Linked DNA regions of Homo sapiens: regions 1 and 2 are each linked to region 3. Evidence: promoter capture Hi-C in 16 types of primary human blood cells and fetal thymus (Javierre and others, 2016). All regions are on one chromosome and are shown on one strand. Each heading gives the region's core, a stretch centred on a gene start or on the middle of the fragment in contact. The rest is flanking DNA. Distances are from core to core; before and after follow the strand shown.

What was found. Contacts are between HindIII fragments. The CHiCAGO score rates a contact against its expected background, and 5 or more counts as called.
Region 1: a fragment that was not itself captured here is called in contact with the fragment with the promoter of FUNDC1 in region 3 in 1 of 17 cell types (neutrophils); the score reaches 6.1 in neutrophils.
Region 2: a fragment that was not itself captured here is called in contact with the fragment with the promoter of FUNDC1 in region 3 in 1 of 17 cell types (total CD4 T cells); the score reaches 5.1 in total CD4 T cells.

The regions. Positions count from the first base shown.
Region 1 is chrX:44,035,959-44,040,362 of GRCh38, reverse strand. No RefSeq gene overlaps it. Among named protein-coding and RNA genes, the nearest start is that of NDP, 65 kb to the right of the region's middle. The HindIII fragment of the contact is 3,150 bases long and covers 1,343-4,404 here.
Region 2 is chrX:44,242,552-44,246,974 of GRCh38, reverse strand. All of the region lies in intron 7 of EFHC2 (EF-hand domain containing 2), which reads left to right. Among named protein-coding and RNA genes, the nearest start is that of EFHC2, 99 kb to the left of the region's middle. The HindIII fragment of the contact is 1,479 bases long and covers 2,189-3,667 here.
Region 3 is chrX:44,541,581-44,546,372 of GRCh38, reverse strand. It overlaps FUNDC1 (FUN14 domain containing 1), which reads left to right and starts at 3,514. Exons shown (of 5, transcript NM_173794.4): 1 at 3,514-3,568; 2 at 4,272-4,428. The coding sequence starts at 3,541. RefSeq lists enhancers at 3,130-3,189, 3,200-3,249, 3,430-3,819. The HindIII fragment of the contact is 14,705 bases long and covers 1-4,792 here.

The sequences.
Region 1 (4,404 bases), core at 1,668-4,167, 510 kb after region 3:
ACAATGAGGGGCCTTACAAGCTCAGGCTATAGTTCCCTGAAAGGGACATGAAGTGGGAGACTGAGTTCCGTTTTCTTGGCTCCATGTCCAGCAGCTTCTCTCCACCTGCCTGTGGAATAGGCAATAAGTGCACCATGATGGTGGTAAATTACAAATTGCAAAAATTTGACTATCTCTCCCTGCCACACCCCACCAGCATCCCCCAGTCTGGAACTCAGCCCCAAAACTCCATGCTGATGTTGTGAGTGGTTGCCACCTACCTTTTACTGCATGCACTGCCTCCTAGATGTTCTACAGAGGCCCTGAAAAATGCAGACATTCTATCCTATGGATGCATAGGTCAGGGTTCTAACAAAAAACAGTTGACACGCTCAAAAAAAAGGATAATTAGAGGAGGATTTATTGACAAAGTTAGCATAGGAGAAACACAAAGGAGAGTGCAGTTATCTGTAACTTGTAGCAACCAGCTTGTTACCACTCAGGCTTGACAGCTTGTGGGGAGGGAATGGTTGCTGGAAGAGGGAAGGAGCTGGTGAGTCTTTGAGTTGTCATACAGCCTGCCGCCTGGAAAAGGTGGTTGAGGGATGCCTCTAGCCTAAGGCAAAACAGCAGGAAGGGAGCCAGAGGCATAAATATCCAGATCCCAATTTCCTCTGTCTAACTGATCTTCTGCAGATACTCTTTATGGGTCAAACACAATTGGAAGCCTGAGGGCATGGGGGCCTTGCTGATGCAGTCCAGAACTGCAGTGTCCTGGCAGACAGCAGGGAAAAGAAGTGTGGAGAGAGGAGTTGAGGGGACAAAGTAAAGATATCTAAGTAATGCATTCATTGATGCATCCTGACTGTCCTCGGATCCTTGGAGACATTTGAGTGCATAAAATGCTTCTAAATCACTCATGTAGAACACATATCCGGTAGTAAAACTTTTTGTTCTTCAATGACTGACACTAGTGTAAGTCCTGTGGATAATTCCTTAGCTCTTTCAAATATATTTATTTGCAAATCTCTGTACCTTCCCTCCAGATAGTTAACAGTTGGGGGTGTGTAAGGATTATGTAGCTTAAGGTGTGAAACGTGGAAGTCTCTGCCAGGACCACAGTGTAATTCTGTAACTGACGGGCATACCAGGGAACCGTGTCAATCTCTTAAATGTACTAAGATTTTCACTGACACTGCTAGGGATGTGTGTTTTGTGTTGCTGAACCTTGAAATAATCATGAAAACTTTGCATACAAGTCTTTAACTTTAGATTTCACTTTTGTACCTAGATGTTATATTCCTTCTAGATAACCACACAAAAACACATTTAGATGTCTCACCTACTGCTTTCAATGAAAGCTTAATAAATGTGGGGGAAGAAACCCTCAAGTGTCCTTCAAAAATATCCGGGAAACAAGAGCTCACACCCTTTTCTGAAACAAAGTCGAGTAAGGCACACATCCAATTCTGTTCCTTTCACCTGCTGAACTACAGCAATACGGCCATATCCCTGAATGGCCCCCTAAGAAACTCAACAAGTAACAGGCAAGCTCTGCCATGTTTATCACCTACAGTGATAAATATGCTACCGTAAGGTGATTGTCCCTTGTTGCCTTGCTGCAGAAGTTCAGGATTACTAGGTGATGACATCAGCAGAAGGAATCAAATATTGTATTCAAAATTGGAGTTGGAGTAGGATTAAACTGGATGAAGATAACATGCAAAAATGTCACATTCTGCACATACATATGGTCCTAAGGCACTCTCTGTATGCGTAATGTCCATAATGTCCGTAGATATCAGGCATCATCTAAGAAAAGATTGTTAGTGTTGTGGGACATTCAGATTCAGAATTCTGATGACAGATAATGTGTCATTTGTTCTTTAAGCATGTATGGAGTACTTTTGTCCCCAGCATTGTCCTATCTAACAATGGGAAATGCCAAAGAAGGAGACTACATTTGCTCTAAGGAGACAAGGGGTAGATTGATGGTCAGGAAATATACTCTCAAAACACACGGAGCAAAGAAATAAATGCATGTGGGAGATGCAATCTTTCCGGCCTCAGAAATGTAAAGTCAGTGTGAGTGAACTAAGTCAAAAGAAGTATTGAGAACAGCAGATATGGATGAACACAATGTACATGGATGGAAAGTGGTGGTAGAAAAATGTGTGTGTGTGTGTGTGTGTGTGTGTGTGTGTGTGTCTTTGTATGCATTGTATAAAGAATAGGAACTAATAGAGGGCCCTGGGAGCCACTCCCCTTGCCATTCTTCTTCATTGTTTCCTTACAGTTCTTTCAAATAGGCAGCCCCAGTGCCACACTCTCCATGCAAAAGGAAATTGAGTATAACAAGAAGATTAAAGGCTTGTTTGTTTTTTTAAAAAAGGTTCCGGATGGCCATATTCTTTCCTTCATGCAAGCCAAAGGAACATTTCTCAACACTTACCCCTATGCCAACCACAAAGTCCTAAATTTAATTTTCCCCTGAATCCAATTTTTAAAGAAGAGCATATCCAAATGTTACTTAGAAAGTACCAACAAGGTGTCAGCCTGTGGGGTGGCTGGATCACAGAACTTCAGCTTCTCATATCCTCTAATACCTTGTGAGTAGGCCTTAAAGCAAGCAGGAAAACAGTTTTTTTAATTTGAAAAATAGACACAAATGCCAATGCTATGGTAGAATTTGAAAGCTAAAAATAGATGACTAATGTACATATGTATTGCTTTAAAAGATATACATTTTAAATGAAAATTAACACTTAAATAAAAAATATTGCTGCTTTTTGTATATGATATTGATGGTCTGGCTCTTTAATCTAAGTTAGCCAGTCCAAGGATTGGGATTCTTCAGCAAATAAACAATCCAGGGTGGTATAACTAGAACCATGTGTAGAGTCTTTTACTACACATGGGGTGCTTTCTGTTTAATGATTACTCTCCACTGATAGCAGAACTCTCGAGATCACAGGGTATCTTTACTGGCAACGAAGGAAGAAAAGTACTCAGTTTCCCAGAGGATTGTTACACATAGAATTTAGGGAGAAATAAAATGGCGGGTATGTTTTGTATATTATTTGTAATATACAAATAATTAATATTGTTCACTTTCAGTTGCGAATGGACATTTTTAGATGATGTCTTAGTCTGTTCAGCTGTTGTAACAATGTACCATAGACTGGGTGGCTTAGACGGTAGACATTTATTCCTCACAGTTCTTTAGGCTGGGAATTCCAAGATGAAGGTGCCGGCTGATTTGGTTCCCGGTGCAAGCCCTCTTCTGGTTGCAGACAACCATCTTCTCATTATATCCTCACCTGGTGGAAAGATGATGCGTGCTATTGGGGGGAGTCTCTTTTATAAGGGCATTAATTCCTTTTATGAGGGCTTTACCTTCATGACTTAATCACCTCCAAAAGGCCCCACCTCCTAATAACATCATCTTGGAAATTAGAGCTTCGACATATGAATTGGGGGTTGGGGGGAACTCAAACATTCAGTCTGTAGCCTATGGAAAATGAAAGGGAAAAGGTACAAACCAAGTCACTCTACTTAATAACACCTTGTGTATTAAAAAATAATTCTCCCTAGAAATTTGATGGCTTTTACTGATTAGGCTTTCTTAAATTATTGGGACAGAGTTTCTAAAGTTAAGACAGCAAATGAGTGCCTTCGGCTGATACAAAATTGGCCTGTGGACAAGGTTAGAAGTAGGTATGCATTTATAAACATATAATCAGATAAGAAGCAGATAACGTGTTTCCTTCATTCAAGAAGCACATTCCTAGGAAGAACTAGGGCACCACATCCCATACGTACTCAGAGAAACAGCTGTGACAATTAACACTGAGCCAGGCAGAAATGCTTTTTGTGAGGAGTCAGCATCTGGCAATTTACCAGTCTCAGGCTAAGGTTAGAGACCATAATCATTCAAACACATGCCTTAGTTGGTTTCTTGTCCACAAGAATCATGGGCAATAAGATGGCTGGGTGTTATACAAGTGAGATTTCAAATGCAGACATTCCTCTAAACTTCAACTTTAGAAAAGTCGATCCTGCCCTCTGTTCATTCCAGAAAAATGAGTCCCCAATAATTATTTGATAGGACTCAGCAAAGCAGCCAGAAATTTTGATAGGGAGAGAGATGAGTGCTTCATATGAAAAATCATGTAGTGGTAATATTTAGATAGTTTATAGACTATTTCAGTGTTTCCATTTCTATCTTATTGTTTTGAAATGAATATTTAGCCCAGGAATTTCACAGCATGGTTATGTGCTCCTCTACCTTCCCCCCTACCCCCCACCCCCAAGGTTTTTCTCTCACAGATCTGAAGCTCTTGGCAGAAGATCTTCTGAAAATTTGCTTCTGGGAATAATCAAGAGGTGTACTTCAGGTACTACCCATTTGAAGATTCCCAAAAT
Region 2 (4,423 bases), core at 1,679-4,178, 300 kb after region 3:
CCTTTAATAAATGTAGATGCCTGTTTGGAATCCGTCTTTAGTGTAGAATGAAAATTTAAATGTATATATCAAGATGAGTCACCAAAAACCGTAACTTACACCTGATGATTACCTTAATATAAAGGATGTGGTGTTCCAAAGCATTATATGATTCCTTAAACATAAAGTCTAACTTTTGGTTGATGTTTGTCTGTCAGCTTGGTGAGAATATGAAAGTTGCATTTGGGAAAATGAATGTCCTACTGGTGGGACTTAGTATGTTGTTAGGGTCTTAACGGCTTCTCTAGAAAATTTTTTGAGGCAGTGTGAATTCCCTGGTGTGCTCCAAATCGAGCCATCCTGGGTAAATGTATCAGCTTCAAATGTCCTATGGTCCATTTCAGTCGAGTCCTTGTGCTAATTTCTTTCTGTTCACTTCTTTTGTTCACTCCGTGGACTAATTGTATTATGTAAAAAAAAAGTAGTCTGTGCCTCTAAAGCTAATATAACATGAGCATTATGCATTTAAACAGAAAATTATGCAAATGCAAAATTATGATGCATTTCATAGTCACACTGACTTTTTATATTTCTCATAACATATGTTAAAATATCCCATTTAACAGACACTATTATTACACAACATTTCTTGTGTTACAACAGTGTACTTAATGTAAGTAAAGACTAGAAATTATATCTATGATGAGGTGGAGGGGAGAATGAATCAGTGTTCTCTGATAATCTTTGCATTTGCTTTTCCTGATTTTTTGGTAAGGTTAAATTAATATCCTTAATGTTGCTTAGATACAGTTATTTCTGCCATTTTAATTTTATTTATAGTTCATCTGGTCTCAGCAATTTTTTAAATTGACCAAATTACATGCGTTATGTTTTGGTATCCTTAAAACCCAAACCAGGACAAAGTCCCATCAATCATTGTGGTTCTGTCAATAATTGTGGTCACATTTCCTCCTTTGTCAATAATTGTGTTCAGTAGAAAACCTGGGTATCTCCACTGTGCAGCACGCAGGAAGGATCTGACAAGCAGCAGCAACACAGCTAGGGGCGTCTCTAGCAGGAAGTCACGGGAGATTTCTAACGCAGTACGCCGCCTTGGTGCTTTAGTACCTTCTCCTGTGTAATGACACCCCAACATATTTTGGGGGAGAAAAAATGGCAGACAAAGAGAAGGAGTTGGCCACAGTCCCAAGAAAGGTACATGGATAACCTTTCTATTTATGTAGAAGTGGAGGGCTTGCTAAAATTCCAAGAGACATTTGAGCTCCTGTGTAAAACTCAATCTCTTAAGATGATTCCTTCATACATTTAAGGATTCTAAGGAGAAGGTGATTCCATAGATTTCTTCTCTTTAATAGTGCAGTGGGACCCCCTCCATCAGACAGTTTGGCCATCCTGCTGGCCCTGGCTTGCCTGCCAGGCTGTAGCATGTCACTCCCTCATTATTTTATGTGAATGAACACGGTCCGGCAGATGGAGGTCTGTTGATCTTTCCTATAGCATGAAGGTTGAAAAAGGCTCTAGGGGTTCCAGCAGGTGTTTCTTTCACTAAAAGGACAGGGATCAAATGTAAACTGTTCTTACGTAGGAATTTCTGCTTTAGGTTATTATTTGTCTATCAGTGGACTTTCTTATTTTTTCTTAGTGGCTGGGACAATGAAACTAGTAACAAGATTGTTCATTCTTGTTGCTGTTGAACACTTATTGGGCTATGCTTAGATTCAACAAAAATCTTAAAGCACCTTTAATTTTGTGGAGTCATTTCTGGCCATCTCTGAATTTTTAGGAACAGCAGGACATTTAAGATGAGTGTTTAATGATTATTTGAGTGAATTGGACACTTAAAATTGCACCAATAGGATAGAATTGGCTTCTGGTCTCATCACATGGCCCTGATGGACCTAACAATTTTGTTTCTTTTGCTTCCCCTATGAAATGAAGATGGTTGAGATGGGAGGATTCTTAAAGATTTTATAGCTCTAACATAATGTGATTCACGAATTTAGGTTTCATTGAAATCATTTGACATGGGTATTGAATACAAGCACAAGTGGATTTACCTTGAAGCTAATGAAGCGTAATCTTTAGAGGTCTTCCTTTCCAGGGGTCCCAATCCAAGGCCCTGGCCTAACTTTGTCTTAGTAATTTGACATTCTTTGCCTAGAAGAGCTTTGCCCAAATTATTTAAGCTTCCAGCCTCCCAAAACCTGTATTCATCTCTAGGCTACTAGAACATAAGCAGTGAACGTTGAGGTAACTGAAGGCTTTTCCCAGTAGTCTTTCCCACTGAGATGGTGAATAGAAAATCACCACGAAGAAGCATTAAGACTCCTTTGTAATATGTATCATCTGTCTGCCAATTTGTTGGAATCTAGTCAACCATGGATGGGCATTCAATATATATATGTTTTGACAAGTCACTTGGAATTAGAGGAATCAGATAATTAAAAGACATATCTGTCTCAGGATCTAGCAGAATGCCAACTTGAGACATTGGGGAAGATGCTTTGTACAAAAATGTATACTTTTTCATTTATTCAATGAATATTTTTGAACACCTAAAACACGCAGGATGCTGGGATGATGGAAAACCAAAGTGAGGAAACTTGTCATTCAGCTGTGAGTCCAGAGCTTTGTGAACGTATGCAAATTACCCAGATAAATGGGATTTAAAGTTGGATCTTGAGCCAGAGTTTCCAAAAAGATGTATGTGGTGGTATAAAAGTCAGGCATGATGGAGTGGAAAAGTTCTCAGCTTTTATACACTAGATGGCACTGTGGGTGCAGAGGAAAGCTCTAAATTGGTTCTTTTGTTACTTAAATCTGTTGCAAAAATTATATGGTTGAGAAAACAACAGTGTGGTATAAGCCCTGTAATTCTAGGGGGAAGTGTAGAATGCAGTCCTAATTACTTTGAGATTCAATATGTGTCCTCTTTTGGTTAGACTGCTTAGATTGGTATGTAGAGTTGTATGTATATGTCTCCTGTTGAAAGAAACTCCTCAGGCCCAGATTTTTAAATAATCACATACAGCTCTCCTGCCATGGCTATGATGTTCTTCCTGAAATGAAAGACCAAACAGTGGTGTGTTAGATGTAATGGTTAGCAATGATAGAGTCTACTGCAATTCTGCCCAATTCCAAGATTTGAACTCTCCTCTTTATTTCCAAGACTTTTCTTTAAAATCACCATAAAAATAGCAATAGTTGAAGCTCACAAGTCACTTCTGTACTGGCACACTGGCTCCCCCCTTTCACTGAGTCACCTTTATAAACATGTCTGCTGTAAGCAGTCTCTGTTAGGATGTAACAATACTCTTTTGGGGATTGTTTTTGGGGAAATTTCACACAAAGGCTGCTAGGAAGTCTAAGGACATATGAAAGCTGAAAATGTTTTCAACAAGAGTTAGAAGTGGCCTCAAGCCCTTAGCCTTTTGATCATCAGTTAAAAAACAAAACAAAACAAAACAAAACAAAAACCAAACAACCACCTTAATATTAAGAGTTAGGTTATCTTGGATGAAAAATTGATCTCCATTTTCTCTTCCGGAGGTGTGCACTAAAATTTGTACTCTTCCTCTATGGGAACTTTGACAGTGGAAAAGGAAATATTTGCTTATGTAGAACTCCTTTCATACAGGATTGAAAACACCTATGTCATACTGAAGCTTGGGGAAGAAGTAGAAAATAGATTCTGTGGGAGTTTGTTTTGTTTTGTTTTAGGAAAGATGTGGCATCTTTTTTTGCCATTTATGTTGGGGACAAACACAGTGACTTGGATAGACCAGGTCAATATGTTCCTTGCTCTGGAGAGCACGGTTGCTTCTGAGATTGTACAGCCTCGCAAATGAGTACCTGAAAGCTCCTAGGCTATTACAAATATGTTACCAGCTCTCTCTCCACCTCTCTTTCCTCACAGATGATAAGTATATAAATAAAATCAACAGTATTTACCGCGTAGCACTCCCTTGGAGAGAGTAGGCAGTTGGCTATTTTAAAAGTTTTTTCTTTTTCTGTTTTGTTTGTTCGCTTCATTGCATTTGAGTGCAATTGTAGTCTTTTCTTGGGCTTAACAAAAGCTACCTGGGGCCGTGGCTGGTGAGAGGAAAGTTCTGTTTTGGTGTTTGTTTTTGAACTACATAGGGAAGTACTATGACCTGGAGTTACTTTGGAGGCAATGGAGGGTACTCAAATACAGGGTGCAGTAGGAGGAGATGGTGGATGGGGAAGGATAAAGGTGAATAGTCAGGAGTAAGTCCTGTTTGGAAAAGAATTTTATTAGTGAGTGTTGACTGAGATAGGAGAGGGCTAAATTACAGGTTAAAATGTGGAACGAGTGGCCTAAAGTTTCAAGTTTGAATTTTCATATTATTGGAAAAATCAGAGGAGAACAAAAAATATTCAGAAATGGGAATGTGATGACAAA
Region 3 (4,792 bases), core at 2,265-4,764:
GATTACAGGCATGAGTCACCAAGCCCAGCTCTCATTTATTATTATTATTATTATTTTCAAGATGGAGTTTTGCTCTTGTCACCCAGGCTGGAGTGCAATGGTGTGATCTCGGCTCACTGCAACCTCCGCCTCCCGGGTTCAAGTGATTCTCCTGCTTCAGCCTCCCGAGTAGTTGGGATTATAGGTGCCCACCACCACACCCAGCTAATTTTTTGTATTTTTAGTAGAGACGGGGTTTCTCCAAGTTGGTCAGGCCGGTCTCAAACTCCCGGCCTCAGGTGATCCACCTGCCTCGGCCTCCCAAAGTGCTGGGATTACAGGAGTGAGCCACGGTGCCCAGCCCAATCTCTCATCTTAATTGTGTTCTTTTTTGGCTATGTGTTTAGACAGTTTGTGGTCCTCTCCTCCATCCTCTTCCCTCAACTGTAAAAAGTAAAATAGAGGTTCCTCTTCAAAGACGTTCCTCCCGGTCTAATTAGGAATAAATGGTAACTTCTTTTAAAAGCAAAATTTATTCAAAGACCTGTGCTAACATTCTTAAATATCTGCTAGCCATAATAAAGGAATCAATGTATTTTATCTTCTTATCTCCTACAATTTAGCCTCAATATTTGCCCTGGCATGCTTATACTGGTCCAAGCAAGCATTAGGTCATAGCTTGTTCCTCTTCCTTATTTAAAAGTGTTTTTATCTTTCTCAGCATTCCACAAGTTACTTCCTCTTTCCTTTGTTCTCCTCTACCTTTGCCTCTTTTAAAAACTTCCAAGTTGCTAGCCAATCAAGACAAATACAGAATGTGAGGTCCCGTTCCAGCCAGTGGAAACCGGACACAGCAGTAAGGTAGACGCGTCAGGTTATAAATGACCCTGTGTCCTTTGTTCAGTGTACTCTTGTGGCAAAACTGCTAGCGAGTGTTCCCTTTCTGCAAAAAGTAAAAATGGCCTTACTAAATAAATTAAATTTATGTTCAAGTGCTATTTCTTTATGGCACCGGAGAACAAGCATTTCAAACACAACCTTGCAAACCACCTCCATGAACATTAATTTAAATAAAGTGATTGCCAGGATTGTCCACATGCTTTTGCTATCTCTACACAGTGAAATTATACTGGGTCGTAGCAAAAGAGAATTTGATTTTCCAATCAGTTTTAAATTAAAATAAAACATAATTGAAGCTAACAGGCTAATTAGTTGCAGAGATATGGTAAGAAATAAAGGGAGACAAGTTACTCAATAGTTACTAGAAATTAGTATCATAATACAAATGATAATGAAGGTAAGCCATTCAATTTATAGGGATTTTACATGCTTAGGAAAATTCCTTTCCCAGTCAACAAATGACAAAACATAAACTTGCAAGCTATGTGTTAAGTTGGTGCAAAAGTAATTGTGGTTTGCTATTAAAAGTAATTAATAAATAAGAATATTAATAAATGGGCATATTGTAAAAAGAAATAATAAAGTGCCAGGATTTGAAAAGCCAAGTGCATCTATGCAAGCCAATTTTTAAAGTAATGCAATTTATGCCAGAATTCCTTGTTTTTCCATTAAAATGAATACTGAGAGGACTTTTGTTTAATTGTACAGCAGATGCGGGTGCAACGCAAGTTCAAGACAAGTTTCTGGGTTGGTTTATGTGGACTTGGGTTAGCTGCTTGGTGATCAATATGGCTTTGTATTCATAGAATCCCATGGGGTTTCTGGGTGAAGACCTTGACCTTGTTCCTCTGTCAGATTTAAATAATAAGAATGATGCTGGCCGGGTACGGTGGCTCACCCCTGTGATCCCAGCACTTTGGGAGGCCCAGGTGGGTGGATCACTGAGATCAGGAGTTCGAGACCAGCCTGGGCAACATGGTGAAACCCCCTCTCTACTAAAAATACAAAAATTAGCCGGGCGTGGTGGCACGTGCCTGTAATCCCAGCTCCTTGGGATGTTGGGAGGCTGAGGCAGGAGAATCACTTGAATTCGGGAGGTGGAGGTTGCAGTGAGCCGAGATTGTGCCATTGCACTCCAGCCTGGGCAACAGAGCGAGATTCCATCTCAAACAAACAAACAAAAGAATGACACTAAAAAATTATGTCCTCTTGCCAGGTCAGGAATTACGAGGTTTCTAGGCCTTTCTTTACCTCCTTTGGATTCCTGGCAGGAACTCAAGAGAGAGAGCAGGTAAACAGATTCCAACTTCTAGCAGCAGGGCATTAGAAAACTTGTGGTCCCTTTGTGAGCGCTTGCGCCCTTAGAAAAGTATGGCTTGAAACAGGGTTTCTCTTATCTTTTACAAGCCTTTTTCCTCAAGCATTTGAATTCTGGTAATGTTCAAAATACTGTTAAAAAATTATTCTGACAGTATGCAAGTGATGGGCCTGACAAAAAAATTATGGGACACTTCTTAAAATGGTAAGGAAGACTTTGTTCATGACTACTGCAATAGGTATCACAACTATTGCAATACAGCCTGGCATGGTGGCTCACATCTGTAATCCCAGCACTTTGGGAGGCAGAGGCAGGAAGACTGCTTGAGCCCAGAAGTTTAAGAGCAGCCTGGGCAACACAGGGAGACCTACTCTCCACAAAAAATAAAAATAAATTAGCCGGGAGTGGTGATGCACGCCTGGAGTCCTGGGTACTCTGGAGGCTGAGGTGGGCCGATCTCTTGGGCCCAGGAGTTTGAGGCTGCAGTGAGCCATGATAGCGCCACTGCACTCCAGCCTGGTGACAGAGCAATACCTTTTCTCATAAAACAAAGACTATGGCAATAGGGGTGAGTGATGGGTCTCAACTCTGAATACAGCAGGGAATTTATAGTAAATGATCAGAGTGAATGGATCAATGGGTGGAAGATTACCAAGAGTAGACATGAAGGGTAGGGGTATTCTTGCTAAAGCCAATTTAACAGGATTTTTGCTGGTGGCAGAGTGATCAGATATCAAGAGTGGGGTTGAGGAATTCGATCGGATATTGAGGGTGATTCGATATTAAGGGTGGGGGAGTTCTTACTAAACTGACTTAACTGCATTCTTACCACAAATGGACTAGGCAGGTCAAAGACGACCCAAGGAGGAGACCCAGTCAAAAACAGCTCAGAGGAGCCTCCTGACTAAAGTTTGGTCAAGGAGAGAGTCTTTGTCAATACCCAGCTGGTTCTCCCTTTGTACCACCATGTGGCGCCCTTCACCCCATTCCTTCAGCCCTTAAGGCTCTTTTAAAACAAAATAATCAAATTCAAGTTACGGAAATTCTAGGAGGGGCGGTCCCTCCCCCTTCCTAGTTGCGGAAGGCAACGGACTACAAGTCCCCTACGCTCTCGCGGGGCTATGATCCGCCCGGCCCTCCCCACATTCCGGAGTTTCGCGCCTGCGCAGAAGGCAGAAGGTCCTGCGCTGAGAGAAGGGGGCGGAGACAGGACTACGCGCCTGGAGTAGGAGAAGGAGGAAAAAAGAGACCATAGACTTCCATCCTGGCCTAGAGCGGCCCTTAAAGTGCCAGGGAGAGGAGGGCGGGTGGGGACCACTCCAGAATTGGCCGCTGGCGGTATCATGGCGACCCGGAACCCCCCTCCCCAAGGTGAGCGGCCAGGGCCCGAAGTGGTATCTGGGACGCGGCTCACAGCTCTCGACCTTGCTCCTATGGCACCTCTTCCTTCCCCTGCCCTAGGATTCTTCGAGCTCCATTTTTTTTTTAAGGCAGCCCCTTCGAGCACCCCCTCCGAGCTAGACTTTTTCCTCCCCTCTCTGCGGAACTCAAGCGGAGAGCCACCCCCACCCCCAGCACAGCCCTACCTGCCTCCTGCCTTACCTTCACCTCCGGCCCTTCATCTCCCATCTTCAAATGTATTATTTTCTTTTTTTAAACGTCTGGACTCAAGTGATTTCGCTGAGCTCCAGACTAGTTCTCTCAGGAGGACCCCTCCCCACCCCCATTCCTCCCACTGATGAAAATGGACCCTGCTCTGACCTTGACCCTACTAAGGTTTGGAGGTGGGGGTGACCCCTCACTACTGTGTCATTCTGAGTTGGCCCTGGCTTCGTGACCCCAGGCTGGTCCCCGGGCCTTTGGGAAAGCAGATGGGGGTCATTGTTGCAGGGTCCTTTACTCTTGAGGCCCTGGTCTCAAGAATTGAGTTAAATAAAGTCAGTAGTTTCTATGTGGGCATTTTTAGCTGTAGGCCAGAACTAATGAGTTGTAACAGATTTTTAAAAAGATGTATAGAACATTTCTGACTTTTGATTGACTCTACATTTATTTTTTGCATTTTGCTATTTTGAAGACTATGAAAGTGATGACGACTCTTATGAAGTGTTGGATTTAACTGAGTATGCAAGAAGACACCAGTGGTGGAATCGAGTGTTTGGCCACAGTTCGGGACCTATGGTAGAAAAATACTCAGTAGCTACCCAGATTGTAATGGGTGGCGTTACTGGCTGGTGAGAACAACGTCTTTTTCATTAAATTTCATTTGGGGGCCTGACACTGCTGTCCTTTCATACATGGGCAAGAATCACCGTGCACAGGCAGTAGGTCTACACTGTTAATTCCAGAAGAGGCTTTTCTCTGAGTTAAAATTGATGTAATCTACATTCCCAGGCTCCCTGTTGAGTTTTGGCGATCCCCTCCCCCATGCCCACCACTGTTCCTCTTCTCCCTCCTCATCCTTCTTTTGATTCTTTATATAATTTCCCCATTCTCATGTTCAGCAAATGTCGTGGATCTGATTCAGTGATAGTAGATAGGAAGAAATATATGAGTTAATTATATGTAAATTTTTACATTTCATTCAGTGCTAACTGC